Regions from separate parts of the Homo sapiens genome. Here region 1 is linked to region 2. The links are contacts of gene promoters, found by promoter capture Hi-C in blood cells and fetal thymus (Javierre and others, 2016). All regions are on one chromosome and are shown on one strand. Each heading gives the region's core, a stretch centred on a gene start or on the middle of the fragment in contact. The rest is flanking DNA. Distances are from core to core; before and after follow the strand shown.

Evidence for each region. Contacts are between HindIII fragments. The CHiCAGO score rates a contact against its expected background, and 5 or more counts as called.
Region 1: a fragment that was not itself captured here is called in contact with the fragment with the promoter of AKR1C3 in region 2 in 5 of 17 cell types (endothelial precursors, M2 macrophages, M0 macrophages and 2 more); the score reaches 8.0 in endothelial precursors.

Annotation. Positions count from the first base shown.
Region 1 is chr10:5,417,183-5,422,940 of GRCh38, reverse strand. The region is part of intron 1 of NET1 (neuroepithelial cell transforming 1); the gene reads right to left. Among named protein-coding and RNA genes, the nearest start is that of NET1, 7.5 kb to the right of the region's middle. RefSeq lists an enhancer at 1,558-1,727. The HindIII fragment of the contact is 2,266 bases long and covers 2,870-5,135 here.
Region 2 is chr10:5,092,357-5,098,029 of GRCh38, reverse strand. AKR1C3 (aldo-keto reductase family 1 member C3) reads right to left here and starts at 3,616. Exons shown (of 9, transcript NM_003739.6): 1 at 3,502-3,616; 2 at 1,453-1,620; 3 at 480-596. The coding sequence starts at 3,585. LOC124900291 (U8 small nucleolar RNA) reads left to right here and starts at 4,487; the gene lies at 4,487-4,622. RefSeq lists an enhancer at 3,479-3,773. The HindIII fragment of the contact is 2,243 bases long and covers 2,468-4,710 here.

The DNA of each region.
Region 1 (5,758 bases), core at 2,753-5,252, 320 kb before region 2:
TTTACATTTGGGGTGTGCCAAGCAACTGAGGTTCTCAATTTCTTTGCAAATCAGGCAAAAACAAACTAAATTATTATAGAAACAATTCATTTATTTGGGTCAAATATCTGATGTAGTAGACATCCACTACTGTTTTGGCTGTTCAGCATCTTTGCTATTAAGGAGTTGTCTCTTCTTCCACTTCTGACAATCATGTAGACTATGTCTCCTATCATACTAGGGTTTTCTCATCTGCATGAGAGTCTCAACTAATACATACATCTTGGAATATCTTGTCTAGAACACAGTTGAGCATCTAGAAACCAGCAAACACCACCCCCAAAGCACCCCAGACATCCTAATGTCCTGCATTAATTCTCAGGCCTTGCCCACAGCAGCAAATTCAGGGAAGAGGGAACAGGGGATAATGACAACAGCAAGTAACAGAAGGAAAGAGAAATTCTGAAGGCTTCCATCATTAACAATCCAGTACTCTTTGGAAACAGTGTGGCAATTCCTTAAGATGTTAGTGGTAAGTTTACCGTAGGACCTGATAATTCCACCCCCAAGAATTTACCCAAGAGGAGTGAAAACGTATGTCTACACAAAGACTTTTTTTTTTTTTGAGACGGAGTTTTGCTCTGTCACCCAGGCTGGAGTGCAGTGGTACGATCTCGGCTCACTACAACCTCCGCCTCCAGGGTTCAAGCGATTCTCCTGCCTCAATCTCCCGAGTAGCTAGGATTACAGGGGCACGCCACCATGCCCAGCTAAATTTTATATTTTTAGTAGAGACAGGCCATGTTGACCAGGCTGGTCTCGAACTCCTGACCTCAGGTGATCCACCCGCCTCGGCCTCCCAAAGTGCTGGGATTATAGGCGTGAGCCACCGCGCCCAGCCTACACTAAGACTTACATGCAAATGTTCATAGCAGCATTATCCATAAAAGCACCAAACTGGAAACAAATCAAATGTACAACAGCTGGTAAATGGAGTTGACAAAATGTAGTATATTCATATAATGGAATATGGTTTGGCAATAAAATGAAATACTGATGTAAGTGAAAGAAGGCAGAAGCAGAAAGACTACACATTGTATGATTCCACTTGTATGTCCTGAAAATAGAAATTTATAGAGCTAGAAAGCAGATCAGTGGCTGCCTAGGGCTGGGGTGGGAGCAGGGATATTTGGGGTGATGAAATGTTCTAACAATGGATTGTGGTAATGACTGCACAACTCTATAAATTTACTGATAATTACTGAATTGTTCACCTACAAAGGGTGAATGTTATGATATACAAATCATATCTCAATAAACTATTTAAAAACATAGTCAACTTATTTGGGACCACATGGCCTTACAAGCTTCTGTGAGCATGCCTTTTATTTTTGGCAACTACTACTACTAATAATAAAGATCCTGGGTTGTCAAGAATTGATTTAAGGCTATACCTTTAACTGGATATCCACTGTACAAATCCATCAATTAATTTTACTGGAAAAACAAAATTCAAAGAGTAAGCCTTATCACTGTTGGTAGATCATAGGTCATACTATTATTTTTCTACCAATGGACAGCATTATTTCAAATCTGCAAAAAAGGAAAATATAAAATCCTTAAAAGGATCAGTATGTATTTATATTTCTGCCATATGGGTGATATGTAAAGTTCTATGGCTTTCCCTAAGGCCCCGAAAGACAGAAATAAAATTATTTAAACATTACTTGTGTCCAATTTTCAGGACCTTAGACATAGGTACTATGAAGTGAGATTTAGAGACTAAGTAACTTGCCCAAGGTCCTTAAGAGCCAGAATTTGAACCTAGGAAGTCTGACTGCTTTTAATGCCTAAAATCTTTAAACGTTACTCTTTGTCTATGGGTTCTAGTCTAAAAGAATGTTAAAAGAATATACATTCTCAAAGGAGAAGACAGAAAATAATTAGGTAAATCAAAGCTGAGGCCAGAACAGACTTGGTATCAAAAAAACTAGGCCAGAAAAGCAGTCCTCGTTCTGAGCTCTCAATCATGTAGTATAACCTAGGGTTCTTTAGAAAGACCCTTGCTGGCCGGGCACAGTGACTCATACTTGTAATCCCAGCACTTTGGGAGGTCAAGGTGGGCGGTTCACGAGGTCAGGAGATCAAAACCATCCTGGCCAACATGGTGAAACCCCGTCTCTACTAAAAATACAAAAATTAGCTGGGCGTGGTGGCGCTTGCCTGTAATCCCAGTTACTCGGGAGGCTGAGGAAGGAGGATCACTTGAACCAGGGAGTCGGAGGCTACAGTGAGCCGAGATCGCGCCACTGCACTCCAGCCTGGCGACAGAGCAAGACTCCATCTCAAAAATAAATAAAAAAATAAAATAAAAAAGAAAGACCTTTGCCTACTACCCAGAACTGGGAGGTGAGGAGAAAGACGTTAAGAGGCCTGTCATATTGTAGGGAATATCTACATAGAAAACATAACTGCTGCCCCAGAGAAACTTGCACAGGTGTATAGAGGAGATGTATCAACAAACAACCTAAAATCCCAAATACATCTTATACAACATACCAAATATATTCCACCTGAGTTATAAAAATTGTATATTATAATATCTCACTGTACAGAATATCATAATGTATTTAGCTTCCTCCTCCTGTTTTTTCTAACCTTTCTACTACACAAATGTGCTAGGATATACTTTCTTGTACATACATCCATGTATACTTGCCCATTACTTTAAGATAAATTTCTGTGGGTAGAACTGCTTGGTTTAAATATTTGCATTAAAATTTTGTTTTATTTGCTATATTTCCCTTCAAATACACATAATGGGAATATCAGAAAGAGAGGAAAAGAGAAAAGAGCAGAAAAAAACTTCAGAGAAACAATGGCTGAAGCTTCTCCAAATTTATTGAAAAACAACCACCTACACATTCAGAAAAAGCTCAATAAACTTCAAGTAAGATAACACAAAGATATCCACAGACAGACACATCATAGTAAAAATGGCAAAAGTTAAAGATAAGAAAATCTTAAAAGCAGCAAGAGAAAAAAACACTTGTTATTTACAAGGAACCCCAAAAAGATTCTGACTTCTTAACAGAAACAATGGAAGACAGAAGCAGTGTGATAACACATTCAAAGTGCTCAAAGAAAAAGAAAATTTCAGCAAAGAATCCTATACTATCAAAATTATCTTTCGAGAATGAAGGAGAAACAAAGACATTCCCATAAAAACAACAACAACAACAACAACAACAACAAAACAAAGAAAAAAAACAAACAGAGAATTTGTTGGTAGCGGACTTGCCTTACAAGAAATACCATAAGAATTTCTGGCTGAAAGCCAGTGACCACAGACGGTAATCTGAGTTCACATACAAAACCCAAAAAAGCCTAGTAAAAGCAGTGTCAATGAAAAAAATCAGTAAAGAAATTCAAATGCTATAAATTAGAAAATTCTCACTTAATGCAAAAGAAAGCAATAAAGGAGGAATAGAGAAACAAAAGACATATATAACACGACAAAATGGCAGACATAAATCCAACTATATCAATAAATAACGTTAAATGTGATTGGAGTAAACAACCCAATCAAAAGAAATGGACAGCCAGACAGGATCAAAACCAACCAACCAACCAACCAACCAACCAACCAACCAACCAAGATCCAACTATATGCTGTCCACAGGAGACACACTTTAGTTTCACAGATATAAACAGCTTGAAAATAAAGGGATAAACACGTATCATGCAAACAGCAAGCCACAAGAAAGCTAGAGTAGCTATATTAACATCAAACAAAATGGCCTTTCAAAGAAAAAAATGTTACCAAAGAGGGATATTTTATAGTGATAAACAGATTGATCCATCAGGAAGATACAATTACAAACATATGTGCATATAAAAACAGCACAATCTCAATAAATGTAAAAGGATAGAAATAATACATAATACAAAGTGTATTTTCCAGCTGCAATGTAATGAAATTAGAAAAAATTTGTGAAAGTCACAATTATGTGGAAATTAAACAATTCATTCCTAAATAACTAATGGCTCAAAGAAGTCAAAAAGAAATCAGAATTTGAGATTAATGATAGTGAAGACACAATATATCAAAATTTATGAGATGCAGCTAAAGCAATGCTCAGAGGGAAATTTATAGCTGTATCCCTATATTAAGAAAAAGATCTCAAATCAGTAACTTAATCTATAATCATGACACTGGAAACAAAAAGGGCCAACTAAACCTAAAGCATGCAGACTAATCTGAGCAGATTACTCAGATTACTAAGCAGGAAGAAGGAAACAATAAGGATTAAAGTGAAAATAAAACAAAGAATAGAAGAACAAAGAAAATTAATGAAGCTAAAATCACATTCTTTGGAAAGATCAAGATTGACAAGACTGTAGCTAGATTGACCATCATCATAAAAAGAAAGAAGACACAAATTACAAGAATCAGAAATAAAAGAGGGGACATTACTATTGACATTACATGAAAAGGATTATAAAGAAATACTATGAACAAGGAAGGGTACACCAACAAATTAGATAACTTTGATGAAACAAATTCCTAAAGAGATACAACCTACTGAAACTGACTTAATAAGAAACAAACTATCAGAAGACACCTACAACAAGAGATGAGATTGAATTAATAATAATAATAAACTATCCACAGAGAAAAGTCTAGGCCTAGGTGGCTTTACACTGAATTCTACCAAACATTGAAAGAATACCAATTCTTCACAAACTCTTTCAAAAAAAACAAAACAGTAGGGAATACTTCTTAACTGATTTTATGAGGCCAGTATTATCCCAATACCAAAACCAGACAAGCATAGTACAAGATAATAAAACTACAGATCAATATCTTATGAATATATATACAAAAATATTCAACAAAATATTAACAAAATGGATCCAACAATATATTTAAAAAAGCTATACACAATGACCAAGCAGGACTTATACCAGGAAGGCAAAGTTGGTTTAACATCCCAAAAAATCAATTAATGTAACACATCAGTAATAACAACAACCACATGATCATTTCAATAGACAAAAGAAAAAAAACCCTAAAACCTTTCATGATAAAAACCACTCAAAAACTAGTAACAGAATGGAACTTCCTCAACCTGATAAAGGACATCTACAAAGCTTACAACTAACATCATACTTAATGGTGAAAGATTGTATGCTTTCCCCTTAAGATCAGAAACAAGACAAGAATTTCCCGTCTCTCCACTTCTGTTCAGCGTTGTACAGGAGGCCCTACCCAGGGCAATTAGGAAAGAGAAAAAAGTAAAGGGCATCCAGAGATTGGAAAAAGAAGTAAAACTATTTTTATTTGCTGATGACATGACCCTGTACACAGAAAGTCCTAAAGAAACCACTAAAAAACTATTAGAACTAATGAGCTCAGCAAGGTAGCAGGATCCAAGATCGATATACAAAAATCAATTGTATGTATTCCTATACAATTGAAATTATTAAACTGAAAATAAAGTGATACAAAGCGGGGCAGGGAAGTGCTGCGTAGAGGAGAGCGTGGTCCCTTGCTAGGGCTCCATCCCCAGGCCTGGGCCCACGGACCTAAGTGAGGATAGGCATTTCTGTTTTCCTACCCAAATGTTGCATTTCCCAAGACCACCCTGGCTCACCACACCCCCATCCTGTGCCTATAAAAGCACGCCCCCACCTGTGCCTATAAAAACCCCCCGAGACCCTAGCAGGCAGACACACAGGTGGCTGGATGTCAAGAGGAACACATCGACGTGGGAGT
Region 2 (5,673 bases), core at 2,367-4,866:
AATAATAAAGCTTTGCAAGTCCACATTAAGGGTTTCTAATTTAAGAACCATGCATAGTGGCTTCCACCAAATCTGCTTCAGCTTGAAATGGGGAGAGATGGTGGAAACTCATTGTGCATCACATGTGCAGCAGTTTTATTGGGCACCACAACTGCATGAAACTCTGTGTCTGGGAACATCCCAAGAGATGGACTCAAAAGCCACAACTAAGACAGTGCCTTGAAAGAGACTATTGTAATTTCAAGTTTTTGAGGAAGAGGCTTTGAGGTTGCTGTACTCTCTTCTCTTGTAGGTGTGCATTAGAGAAGTAGGATTCAAAATTTACTCGAAAGAAAGGAAATTAGGTGTTCCACTTACGGTTCTTCTTCTGTGTGATAATCCCTACATCCTCCTAATAAAAAGCTCTGTTCAACTATCCAGATAAACAATGTTTATAATGACAGCAGAAGCGCAATTTTATGCTCATACAAACTGCATACCTTTAGAGACATTGGAGAATGAATAAGATAGAGGTCAACATAGTCCAATTGAGCTTTCTTCAGTGAGTTTTCCAAGGCTGGTCGGACCAACTCTGGTCGATGAAAAGTGGACCAAAGCTGCAGAGGTTAAAGAATGGAGGTGATTTTGAATGAATGCTTGAGCAAATCTTATTACTTTGTGCCATCTAGTATTTAGATATTTTCCTACTGCTTCAAAATTTATGACCACTGGCAAACATATTCTCTTCCTTCTCATGATTCCTTTGGCTCTGACCTATCCTTATAAACTTTATTATACGTTGGATGTATAGTTTGTACATCTACTGAATGATAGGAGTAAATTCTTAAAATGTAAAGATTAGTATTAAGTAATAACTATGATGTTACCTGAATTATCTTCAGTAGAGTTTACAACTCATTTTAACAGTCTAATTCTTCTATCCATTCAACCCAATGCTTAAGAATAGCTATTTATGTTGCTTAGAAACTAAAGCAACATAAAAGGGGGGTAAAACAAGTTTTGAACATGCTCACTATGCTGGACACAATTTAGGACAATTTAAGTGTCTATTATTTAATACTCCCAGAGCTTTCTTATATTGCTTTCTATCTCACTGATAAAGATAGCAATTGAGAGAATAATAAGAAATCTTAGAAAATCACCCAGGCGATAAGAAAAACCATAACATGATTATTGTTCTCTGTGATTCTATAGCACATGTCAAATCACACTGATCTCAGCTGAAGCTCAAAAAAGTAAAGGGACTTTCAGGTCATAAATTGGAACACAGCCAAAATGAAAAGTGATCATCATTCCTTGATTTTGATTTCAGTTTTAGTATGTGAGTATGTGTGAATAAATTTGAACCCAGAAGCAAAATTCACCCACAACTACTCATCCAGTCATAGAATTGTCATCTCCACACAATCACAATAAATACATGTGCACACAAGCTCATCATAGACACAGTACCTTTGAAGTGTAGAATATGTCTTCTCTCTTCACACTGCCATCTGCAATCTTGCTTCGGATGGCCAGTCCAACCTGCTCCTCATTATTGTATAAATGAGCAGAATCTATATGGCGGAACCCAGCTTCTATTGCTAATTTTGTGACCTCCAAAGCTTTACTTCTCGGAACCTGGAGGAGCAACCAAAGGTAGTATCTGGTGATCACTGTGGCTGAGAGGTAGTTCAGGCACAAGCATTGACTTTTATACAAGAATCAGCTTTTCCTCCTGTCTGTATGTGGGGTGAAAAGTCCATCTCAGTTTGCCTGAGTCTTTCCTGGTTAGTAATAAAGGTTGAGCATCCCAGAAACACCTTCAGTCTCAGGCAATCTCTGGTTGATCACTGTTATGGAGGTACCAAATAACACCCTCAGATTCAGTGATTTGTTGGAAAAGTTAACATGACTGAAATAGTCCTAATTATTTTTAATATAGTGATATTATACATGGTAAAAATCACATGGAGTATAGAAGGGAAACGGTGCAAGCTCATATGAGTTCTCTCCCAGTGATATTACACAGAATGCTCACTCAGACTTCCTCCAACATCGTATTTGGGAAATGCTGTCTACAAGAGATGTTCTTTGGTGTCTCAGTTCTTGAGATTTTGACTGGATGCTAGTTACATCGACCCAACTAGGGTTCACTTGGGAAATAAAGCATCTGTGAATAGTAGTCTATTAAGTCTTTTCTGCATAGTCATTCTGGCTACACAACAGAACTGAACACTAGGGGTAAAGATGTATACTCTGAGGATATCGATTTGTACATTAAAAATTCACTGAAATCTGTTAAGAATTTACTAAGGTACAGTTCTGCCATAAAAAATAAGGCTATCTCTTTCAGGAAAGACAGAATTCCAGTGAAATTTAAAATTACTGACTTATTGACCAAATTTGGATAAAGATTTGAAAGGTATTTTTTAATGACAAAAATATAAATAAACTGTTTTCATTTTTACATGTATTTAAAGAAGCTTTCTTGTTTCGTTGAAATTACAAGGAACTAGATAACGGTCTCCCCGCCATCTCCTGAGAACAGTCTTTTTTTTTTTTTTTAAATCTTTTTTGAGAGCAGTCTTTAAGTGTGCCAACACTCAAAGGTTTACCAAGGCTGGAGCTTCAGTTGTGTCGTTATTTTCATTTCCTGCCCATGCCAATTTATATTAAAAATTAAACCACTTTTGTCACTGGTCTAGAAAATGTATCCTTGTAGATCATCACAACTTATCGATAAAGTGAGAGACTCAAATTTCAATAATTAGTTCCTATTCACACACTTAGTAGCCTGAGGACAGTCTTGGAATACAAGTTCTATCTAGAAAATGAGGTCTCCATTTTGTTCATTTTTGTGTCAGAAGACCACTCCTACCACTTTGATACAAATATGATGCATACAAAAAAGGACTAAGAATTTAGACTTTCCTTTGTTAGGTTCTAGATTTTACTTAAAATGAGGTGGTATTTTTTTCTTTCAGGAAGTTCTTTTTAAAAGTGAAATAGTACAGTGGAAACTCTAGTCCAGGTCCGGTAATACTGGGTGGCACTCACTGCCGCCCATCAGAACAGTGATACTCTGCCGACAGTTTTGTGCACACCATATCCAGTAATTTTTGCTATAAGTATTTCTCTGGATCGTATGTTCTTGGAAGATGGAAAGATTTCTTCAGTTGTAGAAACAGAGAAATCACTCCTATTGCAATTAATCTCCACCAGAGGGAGATGACCAACAGTGTTCTTCAATACTGAGTTTTACATATTCTGCCAAGCTGGGAACTAGACATGAACAGAAGAAAGAAACAGTGCACAAACGAAAAATAAGCAGTACGTGACCATAGGAATGGACCTCAATGCAGAACAAGGATTGCCTACTTTTTTCTCCTAGCCTAGGAAACCTAGACCAGTGAGTCATCCAGAGTAAGGTAGGAACACGAACCTTACAACCCAATACGGGTTTCACTTCTACTAGGTTTATTCTTTTGAAATCCGAAAACTAAAAGGAATTATTCTTACCTCTGGAGGTGCATAGGTGCCAAATCCCAATACAGGCATGAAGTGGCCATCATTTAGCTTTACACACTGGTGTTTGGAATCCATTCCCTGTCACTTGTCTGACTAGCAAATGTTTGCTGCTGCTTCTCCTCAGAGATTACAAAAACAATGGGCAGGAAACCCCTCCCCCCACCCCTGCAAACTGACTGATGGTTAACCAATGGCATGTAGGAGGAGGTACATAGGCAGTCTTATATGGTCTGTGGAGAAAATTGCATTCAGTTCATTTGTTTCTTATCAAAGAGAATTCCTAAGTAAATTATTATAATATATGGTTATAATAAACTCATTAATTTCTATCTAAAGTATTATTTTCTATTCTAAATCTCTATATTAAATTATTCAAAAGGATTTGTAGAACAAATAGCAACCATATGTTAGACTATAAAAACCTCCAGCTACAAATATCTTTTTTCGTTTCTGCCGTGATAATGCCCCTTCTTTATACTGCATCATTTGAAATAATTAACCATCTTACGTCTTTCTCTCACATACACATAATTTAAAGGAATGACTAATGAGAATTTTTCAAATAGTTGGTCCTCAATAAAAAATTAAAGTTAAAACTGTAAAAATATTTGCCTTTTTACATTTTCAATCAGAAAATTTATTTTGATTTTTCTTTCTTTGCGTTGTAAGAGAAATATTCATTTCTGAAGAAGATGCAGTCCTGATAAAGCTGTAATCCTGATGAGGGTGCAAATAAAAAGAAATTCTGGTGTAGTTTTTATTGGAGTGTTAATTATTAACAGTTTTTGGAGTTTGGACATCATTTAATATATGCAAGCAGTGCCTTAATAGTATTTGTTCTTCAACCAGGTTTATTACAGACTATCAAGAAGTAACTAGCCAAAAAACTGATAACCATTTTATATAATCTGTCATCTTGTTAAACATTATTTGTAAGGAAAAACTGGAAATTAATTACATATAAATGGATGAATAATTCTCATGTGGGATAGTTTTCACTTGTTCCTTCCTTTGGAGGGCAGATTAGAACATGATGAATGTAGTTTGCACAATACATTATCAACATCTTGGAGTTGTCAGAACTTGCAATGCCCTGATTTCGTTCTATTTACTTTTCCTCAAATAATAACCAAAAAGTAAGTTGAGAAATAAGTTAATTATTATACATTGATACAATATAATATAAAATCATTGAAAGCTTTTACAGAGTGATTTCAGCAATATGGTGGATCAAAAGGCCCCTACTTGTCTCATGGACGCGTCAAGAAGTGATCTGAAATTGACTAAAATAAACTTATTTATTTATGGGGGTGCTGAGTAGAAATGTAGTATGATGCCAAGGGCAAGAGATTAGGGGAAGAGACGTGCAATAGTCCGTCTAACCCATTGAGGGGAAGCTGGGGTGTGAATTTTTGAAATAGTAAGCTATTCAAAAGCCAGTAGGTATTTGGGGGAACTACTAATGGGCACACACAGTCCAGGCAGATACAAGTTCAGAAAATTGCTGACAAGGCCTTAGGGTTTTATGTTGGGCTTATGCTAAGACTAAGAACATACCAAGCATATTAGTTGATAATCGTCATGACACAGAACAAATCTATATAGAGTTAGAAAAATGTCTATATTTTGAAATGCTCAAATAAAATAATAAGGTATATAAAGAAACAGGAAAACACAGTCCCTTATAAGAAAGAAAACGAGTTGACAGAAATTATTTTTGAAGAACCATGAGCACTGAAATTAGTAGAGAAAGGTTTTAAAACAATTATCTTAAATATGCTAAAATTTCCAATTAAAAATATGGAAATAGAACTACAGGAAATTGGGAAAAGCATATACGGAAAAATGAGTGTATCAACAATGATGTAGAAATTATACAAAATAAACCAAACAAATTTTGGAGCTGAACGATATAACTGAAGTGAAAATCTCACTAGAGGATTTCAACAGCAATTTGAGCAGAATGAAGATATAATCTACATGTTTAGGGATAAGATATTTTACATCCTTGAGTCTAAGGCAAAAAAAAAAAAAAAGAGTAAAGAGATGTGAACAGACCCTAAAGGGCTTGTAGGACACCATCAAGCCAAGTAGTATACACAGCATTGGATTCTGAGAAGGAGAAGCAGGAGCCTATGGGGGTGGAGAGATTATGTGGTGAAA